2 separate regions of the Homo sapiens genome follow, and region 2 is linked to region 1. Evidence: promoter capture Hi-C in human tissues and cell types (Jung and others, 2019). All regions are on one chromosome and are shown on one strand. The core of a region is centred on a gene start or on the middle of the fragment in contact, and the rest is flanking DNA. Distances in the headings are between cores, read along the strand shown.

Region 1 (3,136 bases), core at 579-3,078:
GACTACAGGCGCGTGCCACCACGCCCGGATAATTTTTTGTATGTTTAGTAGAGACGGGGTTTCACTGTGTTAGCCAGAATGGTCTCGATCGCCTGACCTCGTGATCCGCCCGCCTCGGCATCCCAAAGTGCTGGGATTACAGGCATAAGCCACCGCGCCCGGCCTAATTTCTGTATTTTTTGTAGAGACGGGGTTCCACCATGTTGCCTAGGAGGGTCTCAAACTCCTGGGCTCAAGCGATTCGCCCGCCTCGGCCTCCCAAAGTGCTGGGATTACAGGCGTGAGCCACCACGCCTGGCCAGACACACTTATTTTTCACACTAACATGCAGTCAAGGTTGAAACCACTATTACCTGAAGTCTATGACTTTGAAAAGGGGTTTCATAACTTGACCTTGGGAGTCTATCCTACCTTAAGACGGTTATTTTTATTCCCAACTGCACTTCAGAGTCATCTGGAGAACTTAGAAAACAACAAAAAAAAGGCAGGGCGCGGTGGTTCACGCCTGTAATCCCAGCACTTTGGGAGGCCGAGGCGGGTGGATTGCGAGGTCGGGAGTTCAAGACCAACCTGGCCAATATGATGAAACCCCGTCTCCACTAAAAATACAAAACTTAGCCGGGCATGGTGGCGGGCGCCTGTAGTCCCAAATACTCGGGGGGGCTGAGGGAGGAGAATTGCTTGAACCTGAGAGGCGGAGGTTGCCGTTAGCCGGAGGTTGCAGTGAGCTGAGATCACGCCACTGCATTACAGCCTGGGTGACAGAGCGAGACTCTGTCTCAAAAACAACAACAACAACACCGAAATCACTGCCTCCCGGCGTTTCAGCCTCACGCAGATTTCATCAGCTCAAGCTATATACTACAGGTACAGTCGTTCCTTGGTATTTGCGCAGATTGGTTCCAGGACCCCCGACTATACCCAAATCCCCGCACACTCACGTCCCGCAGTCAGCCTTGCAGAATCCGCTTATAGGAAGAGCCTGCCCTCCTTATACGCGGGGCGGCACATCCCGTAAATACTGGTCGCGTTTGGTTGAAAAAAAATCCGCATATAAGTGGACCCGCGCAATTCAAATCCTTATTGGTCAAAGGTCACTTGGCTTGTTTCCTAGAATTACTTCCAGGAGTCCTGGACACAGGCAGAAGGTGCTGCAGGGAAGAGTAAGGACAGAACTGCAGAGAGAAAACCGCTCTGGAGAAGGCTGTAGGCCAGTGTGGCTGCCTCTTTGCATGCTGCTTTCACTACAATACGGTGACCGCTATTTTGAGACCGTACGAGGTGCTCTAGCCGCATTAACTCATCTAATCCTCATTGCTACTCCGCAAGGTAGAGACCAGGATCCCAATTTTGCAGGTGAGTGTGAGCCAGGCTAGGAGACTTGTCCAAAGTTTCGGTAAGCGGCAGCCCAGCAGTGCTGGACTCGAGTCAGTGCTCTTGCTCGTTATTACGAGGTCACCCGGCCTCCCGTCAGGGGTCAACTAAACACCTTTAGGCAGCGGGGCTGCGGAGCGAGCCGGCTGCCCCCCGGGTCACCCCTGCCTGCAGCTGGCGCGCCCCGGATGCCCGGCCCCCACCCCCACCGGGCCCAATCCCTGACCCTTGCCAAGCGGCAGCAAAGTCACCACGAGTCACCTGCGCGAGCACTAAGGCCGGCTGCAAAGTCCCGAGCCTCGTCTGGGTCCCCGCGGAGCAGAGAGCGGTGCTGAGAGGCCGGGCCACGGCCAGCATCCGGACCCGGGGCAGCGGCGCAAAGGCCGCGGGCAGGCGGCTGACATAGGCTGAAAGGACACGAGACGCCATGGCTACGCCAACCCAGGATGCACTGCGCCGCCGCCTCCGGACCAGGGTTCCTTTCCGGCGGCGCGCAGGCGACGCACACGGCAGCGCTGTCGGGCACCGCCGGCGGTGGCGGCCCCTGGCGGCTCCTGGAGGCACTGCGCCCTCGGAGCCCATCCAGGTTCGGGGACGAACAACTGCTTGGTGTCACAACTAAACTGTGCAGACGTCGCCGTCTTTCCCTAAACGACACGGCACGAGAAACCTACTTTCATTTTTTATCTGAAAGTTCTGAAATACATCTGTTTAAACGTTTGGGGCCGGGTGCGGTGGCTGACGCCTTTAATCCTAGCACTTTGGGAGGCCAAGGTGGCAGGACTGTTTGAGCTCAGGAGTTCAAGACCAACCTGGCCAACACGGCAAGACTCCGTCTCTATTACAAAAAAGATTAAAAGAAAAAAAGGACAAAGTTTTGATTCCACAATTCTTCCACAAGTATTAACATTTATTGAATAGGTAAAAAAATATATATAATAATGTGAAAAAATAATCAATTTCAATACCTAAGACTAATAAATGTGAGAATTACGATTAAAACAATATACATGTTTTAAAACTTGACAGTGTATAATATAGCTGTCAGGTCCACGACTATGCCAACTGTCATGCCCACAGCCAGGTTCCAGCCCATATCGAGGTCTGAGGGGAGTGGGTGGATGAACAGATAGCTGAAAGAACACTCAGGGGACGGTAGGCAGGTGAAAGATGATTTTATTCAGCAGCAGCTCTCATCAGCAGCTTACTTACACTAGTTCTCTCACACTGTCTGCCTTGTCTCAGCTGCTTAGTCCCATGGCTCCCCCACACAACTGCGAGGCTGGCTCTCCCTTGCCTTCAGGGTCAGCAGCTTAACTCTCTCTCAGCTGTGATCTGGCTCCCCCTGTCTGTCTGCAAAGACTGACAGCTCTGGCTCTCTCTTTCTCTGGGCACGAACGCCTGTACAGTATCAGCAGGGCAATTATACCTTTTACAGAAAATAGTGGCTTAGAGCCAAGTGATGACCTTCCCATGTTATGCCTACATGGCTGTGATAACAAGTGGAGTTATACGCCTCTGTCTAAACTTGCTGAGTCACGCAGGATGTAAACATCTTACCTTGGCCTATCCTTGACCAAAGCACAGCCATGTTCCTTACAATAGCTAACAAAAATAGGTAAGCGAGGGAGGAGTTTAAGAAGGCTAATTCCTATTTCTAAGCAGGGAGCTAAAGGATATTGACTGAAATGGAAACACACGGGATAATGACTCCAAATTCTGAAATCTGCCTGAATGAATGATCCAATAATGTCACCAGTTT
Region 2 (3,132 bases), core at 192-2,691, 410 kb before region 1:
CTTCTTTATTTCATTTTTTATTTTTTTGGATTGTAGTGAGGGAGGAGGTAAGGATAGGCAATATTTTAAGTGATAAAAAAATAAATTATATTCCTCTTGCCCAGAGGCTACTAGCATCATTTTGATGGTGTTCTTCATCCCAGCAAAATCATATCAATCTATGGAGGGTTTAGAGCAGTTTGTCTGCTCTGGACATCTCACCTCCATGCCCAGCACTCCATTTCCTTTCCATCTGAGGCCTTAAACCCACTAGCATCATAAGCTTGGAAGCCTCCTAGCTTTGCCCCAGCTTCCAATTTTAGCCCATATTTCATGGGTTCAGGGTGGGAAAAAAAGACATAACTCTGCAGGTTCCGAATACTGCCTAAAAATCTTGATGGGGCACATCGAAGTCACAGACATGGGTCCTCTCTGGTCCTGGGGACCACCCTGTATGCCCTAGGATATGTCCTAATTTGCCTTTGTCACTGTAGAAGGCATAGGACGACACAGTTTTCATATATCCCCCACCCCCAATACTAGTGCTCACAAGTCTTGGGAAGTGGTCATGTGCACTGTTCAGAGTTTGGAAATTAAATAGCTGTGTTCCTTCTCTTTCCTCCTACCTTTAGTTCTTGGTATTGTTAATTAACTCCCTGCACCCAGCGTACTACCAGGCCCCTCAAAGGCGTATGCCATAGCGGTGAAGGCTGCAGGGTTCCATCCAGCTCCTCCACTAACCAGCTGCATCATCTTACACAAGATATTCAACCTCTCTGAGCCCATTTTTCTCCTCTGTAACATGGATATAATAATAGCATGCCTACTTCATGGAATTATTGAAACACAAAAGGAAATATATGTAGGCTATGTGTATATTTATAGAGAGAGACAAATTTACTTATGAGACTAATGAGACTATATATTATAAACATGAAATGAGTTTTTATGTAGTATATTAGTTCATTTCTAAAATTATTTCTCATTGTAAAGTTTGTATAGTTGAGATGCATCGTGCACATTGATGAATGTGATAATTTGCCTTCCAATACTGGTACTCTCCCCCAAAGCTGTTATTAAATCAAGGGCATTCTCTAAATTAATGGTATCTTAGAATCAAGGAAATATGGCACAATGCCTGGCAAACACTAAGTGGCCAATAGTTGCAGGTTATTGTTACATCAGGTGATCTAGAAACATTAAGAGCTTGACTGTAAAGAGAAGAAACAAAAGAGAAATCGTTTCACTTATAATAAAGCCTCAGAGAAAAGGCTGGGGAAAATGCAGCCAGGAACATGATCTAAGGTGGCTGCCGGGAAATTTTCTTGGCAGATTTCATCTGTCAGTTACAATCTGCCGAGCACTGCTCTGTGCCAGACACTGTGCTAGGAACCAGGGGGCATAATGAGATAGGAATGCTGCCCTTGAGGAAGGCGGGCTACTGGAGGTGATAAGGCACGGGTACCCCTGCCTGATAAGAGAGCTGATGGGGCTGCTTCCAGAGTTCCTGCCCAGGAACCCGGGGAAAGGTCCTGCAGCCTGTCCAGCCAGCGCTTCGCAGGTTGCACCTCACCCAGCCCCCGCACGGCTAGGCCTGGGGGCCGTAAGAGAAGTAGGCAGCTTCTCTGGCAGCTGTGGTGGCCAAAAACAAACGTCCCGTGGAAAAGGGGCCAAGGATTCAGAATGCAAAGTGCCTAAGCCACAGAGGAACAGAGGAAGGAGGTCTCTAAGGGCGCATGGACTGGTGTTTCCCAGACTGTGGTCTCCAGGGACACACTAGCCGGCTAGTGCCTGCCAGCTCACCTGCTTCTCTTCTTTGCCCCTCCAGCACGCCCGTCCTCAGAGTCCCGTCCTCAAAGTCCCATCCTCGCCATGGCACCCGGAGAGAAGATCAAAGCCAAAATCAAGAAGAATCTGCCCGTGACGGGCCCTCAGGCGCCGACCATTAAAGAGCTGATGCGGTGGTACTGCCTCAACACCAACACCCATGGCTGTCGCCGCATCGTGGTGTCCCGCGGCCGTCTGCGCCGCCTCCTCTGGATCGGGTTCACACTGACTGCCGTGGCCCTCATCCTCTGGCAGTGCGCCCTCCTCGTCTTCTCCTTCTATACTGTCTCAGTTTCCATCAAAGTCCACTTCCGGAAGCTGGATTTTCCTGCAGTCACCATCTGCAACATCAACCCCTACAAGTAAGAGGCATGAGCAGGGAAACGCGAGTAGGGAGCCAGGCCCCCCACAGAGGCCAAAGCCCCTCCCGAAAGTGACACACTGGCAGCCTGGAGGTCGATTCCAGCCTACAAATGTGCTTTCTAGAAATTTGAATTTGTTGCTAACGCTGGTAAACAGCCCCCTCCCCAGTTCTAAATCTGTATGTACCAAGTTTTCAGACCATCAGTGACTTGTTTTTTTTCTTTTCTTTTTCCTTTTTTGAGATGGAGTTTCGCTCTTGTTGCCCAGGCTGGGATGCAGTGGTGCGATCTCGGCTCACTGCAACCTCCACCTCCCAGGTTCTAACAATCCTCCCGAGTAGCTGGGACTACAGGGGTGTACCACAGCGCCAGGCTAATTTTTTTGTGTTTTTAGTAGAGACAGGATTTCACCATGCTTGGCCAGGCTGGTCTTGAACTCCTGACCTCAGGTGATCCACCCGCCTTGGCCTCCCAAAGTGCTTGGATTACAGGTGTGAGCCACAGTACCTGGCCTTTTCTTTTTTTTTTTTTTTTTTTGGAGGCAGGGTCTCACTCTGTCACCCAAGCTGGAGTGCAGTGGTGCAATCATAGCTCCCTGCAGCCCCGACCTCCTGGGCTCAAGCAATTCTCCTACTGCAGCCTCCTGAGTAGCTGGGACTATAGGCACATGCCACCACATCCAGCTAAAATTTTTTATTTTTTAAGAGATGGGGTCTCGCTATGTTACTCAGGCTGGTCTCAAACTCCTGAGCTCAAGTGGTGCTGCCACTTTGGTCTCTCAAAGTGCTGAGATTACAGGAGTGAACCACCACACCCACTCCATCAATGACTTCTGAGGATGGGCTAGCCCAGAGAGAGCAGAAAGAGGAAGCTGCAGGATTTGTTTCACTTAGAAGAGGCCTGGAACGAACTAACCCCCTCTGCACACTCCCCATATCAAGCCCAAATTAGCCAACCCCCATCT

Evidence for each region. The method cuts DNA at HindIII sites, captures the fragments that hold promoters and counts their contacts. A contact is called where the count stands out against the background at its distance.
Region 2: a fragment that was not itself captured here is called in contact with the fragment with the promoter of NDUFAB1 in region 1 in 1 of the 25 tissues and cell types used here (lymphoblastoid cells).

The regions. Positions count from the first base shown.
Region 1 is chr16:23,594,488-23,597,623 of GRCh38, forward strand. NDUFAB1 (NADH:ubiquinone oxidoreductase subunit AB1) reads right to left here and starts at 1,829. Exons shown (of 5, transcript NM_005003.3): 1 at 1,636-1,829. The coding sequence starts at 1,803. RefSeq lists a silencer at 1,487-1,576. The HindIII fragment of the contact is 9,015 bases long and covers 1-3,098 here.
Region 2 is chr16:23,184,421-23,187,552 of GRCh38, forward strand. SCNN1G (sodium channel epithelial 1 subunit gamma) reads left to right here. Exons shown (of 13, transcript NM_001039.4): 2 at 1,808-2,168. The coding sequence starts at 1,852. Among named protein-coding and RNA genes, the nearest start is that of SCNN1G, 3.2 kb to the left of the region's middle. RefSeq lists enhancers at 1,332-1,833, 1,834-2,333. The HindIII fragment of the contact is 3,555 bases long and covers 1-3,132 here.